Regions from separate parts of the Homo sapiens genome. Here all the other regions are linked to region 3. The links are contacts of gene promoters, found by promoter capture Hi-C in blood cells and fetal thymus (Javierre and others, 2016). All regions are on one chromosome and are shown on one strand. Each heading gives the region's core, a stretch centred on a gene start or on the middle of the fragment in contact. The rest is flanking DNA. Distances are from core to core; before and after follow the strand shown.

Region 1 (3,416 bases), core at 169-2,668, 750 kb before region 3:
CATTAAAACTGGATTAAATTATATGCAAAATCATTTCTTAAGAATGGACAAAGAGGTATAACATATGCTATAAATATTTCTCTGATTTTTTTAAATTGAAATACTCTTTATTAAATTTCAACTTGATGTCCAGTATTGAACCTTCAAACTCATTGTTACAGAAATTGCTAAACATTAGGAAAGAGTTTCAATTAATAGTTGTTCCCTAACTAAGCCCGTTACAAATTCAGGTGTTGGAAGTTCTCTTTTCTTTCTGGATAAAATAAATGTTAACTGTGTGTTTTGGCTTCTTGGAGGGCAGGAAGGCTTCAGTTATCTGAAAACTTCACATAAATAGATCACATCATCCCTGATGATGGTGGTATTTTTATATGTGTGGTGTTTCTAGAAAAATAAAACTTTGAAAGGTAAGGAAAGAATAAACTCGATTTGCAAAAGATTTTGTTTTTACTTTCAAAGCTTCTGCATTCGGATTCAGGTAGCCCAGTCTGTCAATTTGCTATGTTTTGGGCCTATTCCATCACTAGGGTTTATCCCATTATGCTGACTAATGCAGAACTGACCATTTGTGAAGGAGACATGGGACTGTGGTTGACATGATGTGTGATTTGAAATGGCCAAATGCAAACCTCAACCCCACTCCTTACTTGGATAAAAATAGTTGCCCCTAAGCCTTGCCTAAAATGGCCACATAGCCCATACCCAAGGCATAACTGTGATCTGGCATGAGAAGAGAAAGTGAGATTCTGAGCAGGGTTACTTCCCAAGAGGCCAGTCTTTAGTGAATGTCCTGAGTGCTACCTGGAGCACCTGATCAGTTCAGGGAAGCATGAGATCTTTGGTCCAGGACATTCAGAAAGAGCCAGGGACTCTGTAAGACTGCTATAAGTACCCACCAACACAATTGGTCTCCCTGACATTTGTACCCTTTTATACCTTTTCTAGATCTGTCTGTGGCAAATTTTCCAAGAAAACATTGCAAGGAAAAACCCTAGGGACTGAATAGGTAGTAAGCAAGGGAAGGGGCTGAGGGTTTGCAGGCTGTTCCCTGAGTGAGAAGTAAACAAATGGCCCAATTTGGACAGAGTAAGAATAGGTTAGATGAGACAGACATAAAAAATCACATCCCAAACCACTGTGGTCATTCAAAAATGTTTGCAACTTTTCACAAGGGCAGTGGTATTACTCACAATTTCCTGGCCAAATATTCATTAAAGTAACCAAGGACTGAGTACATGAAGCTGCTTCACATCAGCACAGCATCCTACTTTCCTTGCAGCTCTGAACTGTGAGGTACTGTCAAAAAACTCTTCCACACTTTAAAAAGCTATGTTACAGAGGAAAGTTGGAATGTGTTCTGGGAGTGGGTGTGTTTGCTTGAGTTCAGTGTGTGCAGAAAAGGCAAGCCTCCACAGCCATTTACACATTTCCCTCCTCAGCAATGGGTACACAGACAGCCAAGCTCCTGGACTAAGTCTCTGAATGGTAACGTACATTTATAAAGATTATTTTCTTAACTATTTTGAGGTATTTTATAAATAATATGCATGTGTCTTCTGAGGGCATATATATATATATATATATATATTTAGTCGACTTTTGCTTGTTTTCTCCTGAGGCTGGTCTTGTGTGGTTACTTATGTGGTATGATTTCTGAGGTGTCAGAAAGAGCTCCCTCCTACTTCCTACCACCCTAGTCACCCAAAAATATCTCTTGGGCTGGCCCACCGCAGAGCCTAAAATTCCCACATTGCTCAAACATTTGATTTAGTCACTGAAAGCAGCTGTTAAAATCCAAATGTTACATTGGGATATTAGGCAGATATTCAAGATTAAAGACTATATAAAACAGAAAATAATATTAAAAAGTTGCTTTTGATATAATGTTAAGTTTCAAAGGATAAATGCAAAATGACATGTGCAGTTTGGGACAGATGCTGTTCTTAAAATGTCGTGGAGTCAGATCCAGCATATATACCCCAGCTCATGAACATAAGCCTATGGTAAAAGAAACCCAGCATTGTTGGGCAGATTTTGTTTTATGTTGAATGTGTGCTTTCCACAGTTTCTGATCCTCAGCTCCCACTCTCTTCGCAGTGTATCTGACACTTCCCCTTACTGAGCTCCGGAGGCTCCTTCTTGCCGAGCTCCGGAGGCTCCCAGTGACCTCTTGATAATCAGCCTTGGCGGGGCCCAAATACCACCCCTTGGAAAACTCACTGAGCCTGACATCTGCCTGTAAGCAGCTTTCAGGAAGGATCTCACAAACACCCACCCAATCTCTCTTGGTAGCAAATTGTCAAATCATACCCATTTCCTCAAAAGATGGTGGAGGACTTAGCAGCCTCCTATATTGTTCTGAAATTGGAGAATGAAATTCGGCAGGCTCAAGTGCAGTGGCTGATGGAAGAAAATGCTGCTCTCCAGGCCCAGATCCCAGAGCTTCAGAAGTCCCAAGCAGCCAAGGAGTATGATCTACTCCGAAAGTCCTCAGAGGCCAAGGAGCCCCAGAAGCTCCCAGAGCACATGAATCCCCCAGCAGCCTGGGAGGCCCAAAAGACCCCAGAGTTCAAGGAACCCCAGAAGCCACCAGAGCCACAGGATCTTCTACCCTGGGAACCCCCAGCAGCCTGGGAACTCCAGGAGGCCCCAGCAGCCCCAGAGTCCCTGGCGCCTCCAGCAACCCGGGAGTCCCAGAAACCTCCAATGGCCCATGAGATCCCAACAGTCTTGGAGGGCCAGGGGCCTGCAAACACCCAGGATGCCACAATAGCCCAAGAGCCCAAGAATTCAGAACCCCAGGATCCCCCAAATATTGAGAAGCCCCAGGAGGCACCAGAATACCAGGAAACTGCAGCACAGCTAGAGTTCCTTGAGCTTCCACCTCCCCAGGAGCCTCTGGAGCCTTCAAATGCCCAGGAATTCCTAGAACTCTCAGCAGCCCAGGAGTCCCTGGAGGGTCTAATAGTTGTGGAGACATCAGCAGCTTCAGAGTTTCCACAGGCCCCTATTGGGTTAGAGGCTACAGATTTCCCCCTGCAATACACTTTAACCTTCAGTGGAGATTCCCAGAAGCTTCCTGAGTTCCTGGTTCAGCTGTATAGTTACATGAGAGTCAGAGGGCACCTGTATCCCACTGAAGCAGCCCTGGTGAGCTTTGTTGGCAATTGCTTCTCAGGTAGGGCAGGATGGTGGTTCCAGCTCTTACTGGATATCCAAAGCCCCTTACTGGAGCAATGTGAAAGTTTCATACCTGTGCTCCAGGATACTTTTGATAATCCAGAAAACATGAAAGATGCCAACCAGTGCATCCATCAACTCTGCCAAGGGGAGGGTCATGTAGCAACCCACTTCCACCTCATTGCTCAAGAGCTGAACTGGGATGAAAGCACTCTCTGGATCCAATTTCAAGAAGG
Region 2 (3,588 bases), core at 218-2,717, 840 kb before region 3:
TTGAATAGATCAAGCTTTAGCTAAGCTTGGCCTGAATGTTTCTGTGAGGCATCTTCCTGGTTCTCCCTTTAACTTGCAGAGAGCACACATTCTGAAAGACTGGCCTGATTGTTCCAATAAGGCTTTCATTCCCATCTCTGATTGGCAGGAGAGACTTTAGAATGTAGATGCCATCAAGTTTATCAGGTGAACTCATCCTTCTTGGCAAGAGTGCAACTTTTCATCTGTGACAAGGCAAAAGGTTTTATAATCTATGTTGATGGGATATGATGTTGGGAATTTTGTTCTGAAAAATAAACGTGTTGCAAAGCCATTGGGTAATCTGGATCTCAGGTTATTATTATTGTCTTTATGTTAGTCAAGATAAAGAAAGATGGTATAATTTTGTAAGGTAGCAAAGTGAATAACCCCACCAAGCTCTGAAATATTCTAACCTTTGAATTTGTCTGGTCTTTTCCACACTGAAATAATGATAAATTACATTGCTGAATTTCCTTTTAAAAGGTAACTGAAATACTGTATTTAGCAACTCAATAAGACCTTTTTACTGAAAATATTTAAAATTTACAAGAAGAGAGTTTAAAGATGACACATTGATGCATTTGTATGGCAAACAGCAATTAATTTCACATATAATTGCAAATTCAGTTTATGACAGAGTTTTTCATTCAAACATGATTCTTCCTTTATGGGCAAGTTCATGAATTATTCAATATAGCAAATGTCACATTCTCCATAAATCAATTAAGCATCAAAGACATGTCATGTATAGTTTTACTAGAAGAAACCTCATCATAATACAAGCCACGTTAGCGCACAATAAACTGTAAACCAAAGAAATACAAAGCTAGTCGACATACTTTCTAAATTGTTCTACACTGTGATTTTAAATTAGCTCTTTAGAACAACTGTGTTTACATGAAACAGCAGCCTGAAAATCCTGTATGTCTTCCACGGAAACAATATTATTGCCAAAACAATGGAAATTCTCGTTTTTTACCATTCATCACGAAGATCCTTGTTCAGTACTTCAGAGTTGAAGTCTAACTTCTTTCCTTACACTCTCAAAGCATCAGTGTTTCCACTGTAGTTTGTTATGCTATCCCCCACCCCCAAACGCCAAAATCAAATCTTTTTAAAAGAGAAACTTACCCCAAGAAAGAGTGTGCTAGATGAGAGAATGTGCTGATGCCTGTAGATAATTAGCTAATAAACATGTAAATGGGCAACTCGCCCTTTGGAAGTGCATATTTTTATCCATTTTTTTTTTTTTTTTTTTTTTTTTTTTTTTACAGGGAAAGGTTAGCCCAGCCTAAAGTAGCAGACTCTGGGCTGCCGCAGCTTTTTACTGCAAACCGCTCATTCTGTAAATGTGAGCTTATTTACATTTATCTCTTTCCCTTTGTTAACGACTCCCTCTCTTGAATGCTGTAGCCCGCATGCCTTTAGCAAACAGGACACAAAAAGGCCTGAAGTCCGAGCTGGAGCCGACGGCCAGGGGAACTCTTGGGGGTCTCAATAGGAAATGCTTTTCATTGGCTAAGGAGGCATTATTAGGAGTCTAGATCCCGCCCAATTCCCTGTGCTCCATCGTTCCCTTAGTCACCAGTCACTGGACTGAATAAGTTTTTCCTTAAAGAGCATTGCCCAGGAAAAGCAGTTTCACAGTCAAGAATTAATGGCTTAAGTGCCACTTGACAATATAAAAAGTGTCTTTCCTGACCAATTAATCCACAGAGAAAGCCTGTGTGCCTGTCTTTGCCGCAGGACTGCAGAGGAGGAGACAACATTTCAAACAAGGAGGAGTGTTTCAATTATGCATACCATGTTCGCTCCTACTTGTTTAAAATAATTACAACAATATTGATAATAATAAGTAGGGGGCAAGGAAAAGGCAAAAATGAAAGGTACCATAAAAATATTCCTATCACACTGTGCAAAATTCAATCTCCCACCATCACAAAAATATAAAGTAAATTTTAATACTACACTCACTTAAGCCAGATAAGTGCCCTCAGATAGAGATGTACTAGGGTCCCAGAGCTCTGACACCCACCTTCCAAGGACTAGGGAGTGTTCTGTAGCAAAAGGAGGGTCTACACTTCTCAAGTAACTGCCTCGCAGTAAGTCTAATTACCATGAAAATTTCAGAGATTTGCTAAAATACAAAATAAATAGCACAGATGCAATCTATTTACAATAGAGAGTTATCTGCAACTGTATACCTCCGCCCACCTCCCCCATGGCAAGATTTTCTTTTCTAATTATCTACAGGTTTACTGCCTTGGTCACTCACAATTCTTTTTTTTTTTCCTCCCTATATTTTCCTCTTCACCTCCCTCTCCTTGATCTGATTTTGTGGCAGAAACCCACTCATCCATCTGTAACTTCATTGTTGGCCCTTCCCCTCTGCCAGCCCACCCCTGCAAGCCTTCTCTACTCTATCTCCACCCACTGCAAAAGCCACCAACAGCAGCCCCTCCCCCTCCTCTGGAATGAAATTCTCTGCCCAGGGATAAGGTGCTTTCTTTCTCTTGGCAGAGCAGAGCCCCTGGAGTCTTGGAGGATCCTCTATTTGCTTCAGAACTTCAGTTTGTGTAATTAAGCTGCCTCCCAAGTAGGGCATGTTTCAAGCTTGTTTATTCTCCCTATTTGTTCAGCTCTATTGTGGCTCTTCTCACTATCAGTGGAGGCCAGTAAACAAGTTAGTGTGAAGCTGACACTAGCCTTATTACTTGTAACTGGCTCTAAAAAAACACTTTCTCTGTTGCTTCCTCTTCTCCATCCCACCGCCCATCTCTGTTCTTTTTATTCCCCTCTCTGCTTATCTCAAATATGTCTATTTCTGTCAGTTGCTGACATTGTCTGTGTCTTTATAAATGGTCTTTTACCAACTCTCATCCTAGACCAGTACTCGGTGCATTTGTCAGTCCACAGGCGAAAGATACAGTCTCTACCCTGCAGTATGCCAGAGTCTAGGTAGGGACACAAAGACACATGAAAAAAGTGGGATACCAAAGGTAAATTTTGAAAAAAAAAATACCAAGGCAGTTATATGGAGATTGAGTTCTGTAATAGATCAGAGGATGGAGATGAAGTCCCATGGATAGGGCCAGGAGGGTTTCTTAGAAGAAGTGGGATTTGTGCCACATTTTGGTGGATGATTCAGTATTAAATAAACCAAGAATGGAAGGGGATATATTTCTAGGTGGGCAGAGCAAAGTGATCAAATGCAGAAGATGTAAAGTGAGAGTAGGTGAGAAGGAGACCAGTTTGTAAAGGGAAAATAAGGGTAAGGAGAAAAGCTTTTGAGAGGAGTACTTTACTGTAGCAACTCAATGCACTATAGTGATTGAAGGGTTAACCTATAGTCATGATCACTGTCTGTCTATATGATCAGCTCACTACCTTTCTCCTCTTCAAATTAATAGCCATAAGTTTTCCAATTCTTCTGTCTTCATTTCTCCCTCAAGGACACAAGTACTTTGCTGATTAATCTCACCAATGTAGCAGATCTTTTACAATGTCACTGGGTCACGTGCTCTTTTAGCATCAGTCTTCCTCCCTTCTGAGTTTCAGCCTCATTGA
Region 3 (3,467 bases), core at 467-2,966:
CGGGCAACTTTCCAGACCCCCATGGCTTTGCTCACATTATTTCTTCTATCTATCAGTCCAGATAGATGTCTTCCTCTTCCTCCATTCCTGCAAAGCTAAATCCTATCTATTTTTCAAAGCCCAGTTCACATGCTCCCTTCCCTGCACTCTCATAACACCTCCTGTTTCTAATATATAACGTTAGTGAGATTTTTTAAATGTTTAGGTAATCGTGTATCTTTCTTTCCTACTACATTGAGATCCTCAAGTACAAAAAAAACTCTCTCATGTCATGACCTTAGACACCAGAAAATGTTAAATATAATAAAATGCCAGTTCAAAAATAACCATTGAAAAGGATGTGATAAGCAACCTAGTAATTCAGTCAGTGGGGCTGCTAGAAACCGTTGTCTTCATAGCTGAATTCAACTGACTCAATTCGGACTCAATTGTATGTAAACTGTTTATTTTTCTTTCTTCTTTTTTGGAGACAGTTTCGCTCTTGTAGCCCAGGCTGGAGTGCAGTGGCACGATCTCGGCTCACTGCAACATCCGCCTCCCAGGTTCAAGCGATCCTCTTGCCTCAGTCTCCCGACTAGCTGGGATTACAGGCGCCCGCCACCACGCCCAGCTAATTTTTGTATTTTTAGTAAAGACAGGGTTTCGCCATGATGGCCAGGCTGGTCTCGATCTCCTGACCTCAGGTGATCCACCCTCCTCGGCCTCCCAAAGTGTTGGTATTACAGGTGTGTCAGACACTGCGCCCAGCCTACTGTAAGTAAACTCTTTTGAGGCCAGGAACTCTGTCTTATTTCTTGTGCATCACCCCCTCCCCACCACCCCCCCGCACCCGGCAAAAAAAAAAAAAAATTAATAACCTCAGTATCATCTAATTCAATGTTCTGCACATATTCTCAATACAAAGCCATACTATTGTAGATAAAGAGTCTGTGATTAAAATAAAGATCAGATCCTGGACAAACGCTGAATTGTGAAACGATAAGTGTTTGTGCTTAAGATAATCTCAACGTCTACAACGAAGAAAAGTGTCAAAGATAAGATGCCACAGGGTCGGACAATGGACAGTAACTTTACTGGAAAGGGGGCACAATGAACAAAACTAAGTGGAAACAAGAGTTCTCTCAGTTTACCTTACGCTCCCAGAGCAAGACAAGAAGCCAAATATCTATTTTTCAATTATTATTTCATCAATTATGGTCATTTTAGTAACCTTAGCTTCCAAAGTATAAAGAGGTGTCACTAAGCAAAGACCCCAGTCCATGTGACTTTCAATGCCAAACACAAACTTTCTTGTACCCTCAATTAATTGGGTAACGTAGGCCATGGATGATCAGGACATTCTCTCCAAGAGGGTACAAGAAAGTGACACAGGTCAGGATTTAATTTCCCCTCCTCTATCCCCTGTTAGGGGAGGTAAAACATAAATGTAGTTAATACCTGAATTGTGAATAAGTGAAACTTTCGAGACTGCCCCAGACTAACATGACCTTCTCACCACACTCGTAGTACAAACTGACAGCACAGAAGACCCCCTCCAGGAGAAAGGACGACGGGAAGCCAATGTAGGACTTACCTGGTTTCTCTATCCTATGGTTAAACCTCTGGAGCTACGCAGACCGTGGCAGCGATAAATCCACGTACGCAGGCTCCAACAAAGCTCACACAATCGGAGAAGTCACAGTAGCTGCGGCTGCGGCGGCGGCAGCAACAACTCCTCCCTCTGCTTCTCTTTTCCCACCCCCCGCCGCGGCGGCCAGCCGCCTTTACCCCTCCCTCCCTCGACTACCCCCACTTCCGGGTGATGCCCCTGCCGGAAGCAGGGCCGCCACGGGAAAGAGAGCGACTGGTCACGTGAAAAGGAACGCGTGGTCTAGAGCCAGCTTCTCCTGCCCCCTGCTGCCCCCGGGCCGACACGCAGCCTCGAGTGGGTCTTTGTTAGGGTACGAGTCCACTATCCCACCCCGCCCCCACGACAAAAGCGAAACCAGAAAACCCATACTAAAACAGTGCCTTTGTCATCTTTAGTTTCCTAACCTCAGGCCAAGATGTAACATAAAAGATCCTTATAAGTCATCTTCCACATAGTTCATCTTTGCCTAGCATGAAATTCACGTGCATCTGTTAGACTGTGTTAACTGCCAAGATGTAACATAAAAGCTCCTTATAAGTCATCTTCCACATAGTTCATCTTCGCCCAGCATGAAATTCACGTGCATCAGTTAGACTGTGTTAACTGCCAAGATGTAACATAAAAGCTCCTTATAAGTCATCTTCCACATAGTTCATCTTCGCCCAGCATGAAATTCACGTGCATCTGTTAGACTGTGTTAACTTGCTTCCCGTAGACTGTGTAGCCTAATTCCAGATGTAAGTGCCAGAACTATGAATTTATCCTCTTCCCTCCATTGAAAAATTACATCAAGAGGAAAATGTTTATAAATTCATAATTTTTATATGTGTGTTGAGGGGGTAGGGACGTCACTTCACCACCTTCATAGCGCCATTCCAAGCTCTGAACCACTCCCCCATTTATTCATTCACTCGTCCATCATTTTACACACCTAGAAGATTCCGGTGATGCAAAAGTGTTACAGTCTCTGTTACCATGAGTTCATTTAGAAATGAGATGCATAAAATGTAAACAATGCAATAAATGGTACAGAAAACATTTGAAAAAAGGGTCATTTTATTCTTGCTTTCCAACTTAACATTTTGAAAAGCAGCAAAATTCTAGGATTTTTAAAACTATGAACATTAACAGTAAAAAGAGGGAGAGGCTCCATCTCACTTATTTCAAAGCAAGATGTGGCCTTTTCATATTTCCTTTCATGAAGTATCTGTCATAAGATGTAGAACAAAACTAATCACAGGACTATTTGTATTTTCATCTGGAACCATTTGAACCCAGTTCCCACAGAAGAGTATGAAGCCTAATAATGTTGCAGAAATCAAAATAGTACACAAAATACAAATATCAAGTAAATATTTGTAAAAGACTTAGAACAGCGTCCGGCACAAAGTAAGCATATTTAAGTGTTGAAATAATTTCCATCCTAGCTGTTGTCAAGTCCCTATTAAGCCTTGACAGGCAACATTTAAAATTACCCATAGATCTACATTTTAGGTCTGTGATTAAGTATTTCAGAATTATTATCCCCCTCCACACTCATCCACATAAATATAAAATTAGCCTCAGGACTCATCTTCCCAGGCATTATTTTGTAGTTGTCAATGTGTGCAGCCTTAATTATTAAGATACAAACTCAGCCCCAAATTTAAAATCTTAAAAATCACATCATATGAAATGAAGATAGCTTTTAAGTGGGTTTCCAAATATTAGCAAGTTGGTTTGTAACTATATTAACATTGTGTTAAGCATCCAAAAGAAATTCACTAAAAGGCAAAACCAAAAATATATCTTTTTCAGAAGCAGAACATTGAATCTACTAGCTATCTAGTATTTTTAT

The links. The method cuts DNA at HindIII sites, captures the fragments that hold promoters and counts their contacts. A CHiCAGO score of 5 or more calls a contact.
Region 1: a contact is called between the fragment with the promoter of RTL3 here and the fragment with the promoter of ATP7A in region 3, in 3 of 17 cell types (neutrophils, activated CD4 T cells and erythroblasts). The highest score is 8.9, in neutrophils.
Region 2: a contact is called between the fragment with the promoter of LPAR4 here and the fragment with the promoter of ATP7A in region 3, in 2 of 17 cell types (naive B cells and megakaryocytes). The highest score is 10.6, in naive B cells.

Annotation. Positions count from the first base shown.
Region 1 is chrX:78,657,330-78,660,745 of GRCh38, reverse strand. It overlaps RTL3 (retrotransposon Gag like 3), which reads left to right and starts at 1,418. Exons shown (of 2, transcript NM_152694.3): 1 at 1,418-1,485; 2 at 2,098-3,416. The coding sequence starts at 2,326. All of the region lies in intron 1 of LOC107985670 (a long non-coding RNA gene), which reads right to left. The HindIII fragment of the contact is 2,616 bases long and covers 462-3,077 here.
Region 2 is chrX:78,745,599-78,749,186 of GRCh38, reverse strand. It overlaps LPAR4 (lysophosphatidic acid receptor 4), which reads right to left and starts at 1,467. Exons shown (of 5, transcript NM_001278000.3): 1 at 1,153-1,467. The HindIII fragment of the contact is 2,609 bases long and covers 28-2,636 here.
Region 3 is chrX:77,908,942-77,912,408 of GRCh38, reverse strand. ATP7A (ATPase copper transporting alpha) reads right to left here and starts at 1,716. Exons shown (of 23, transcript NM_000052.7): 1 at 1,574-1,716. The HindIII fragment of the contact is 7,135 bases long and covers 1-3,467 here.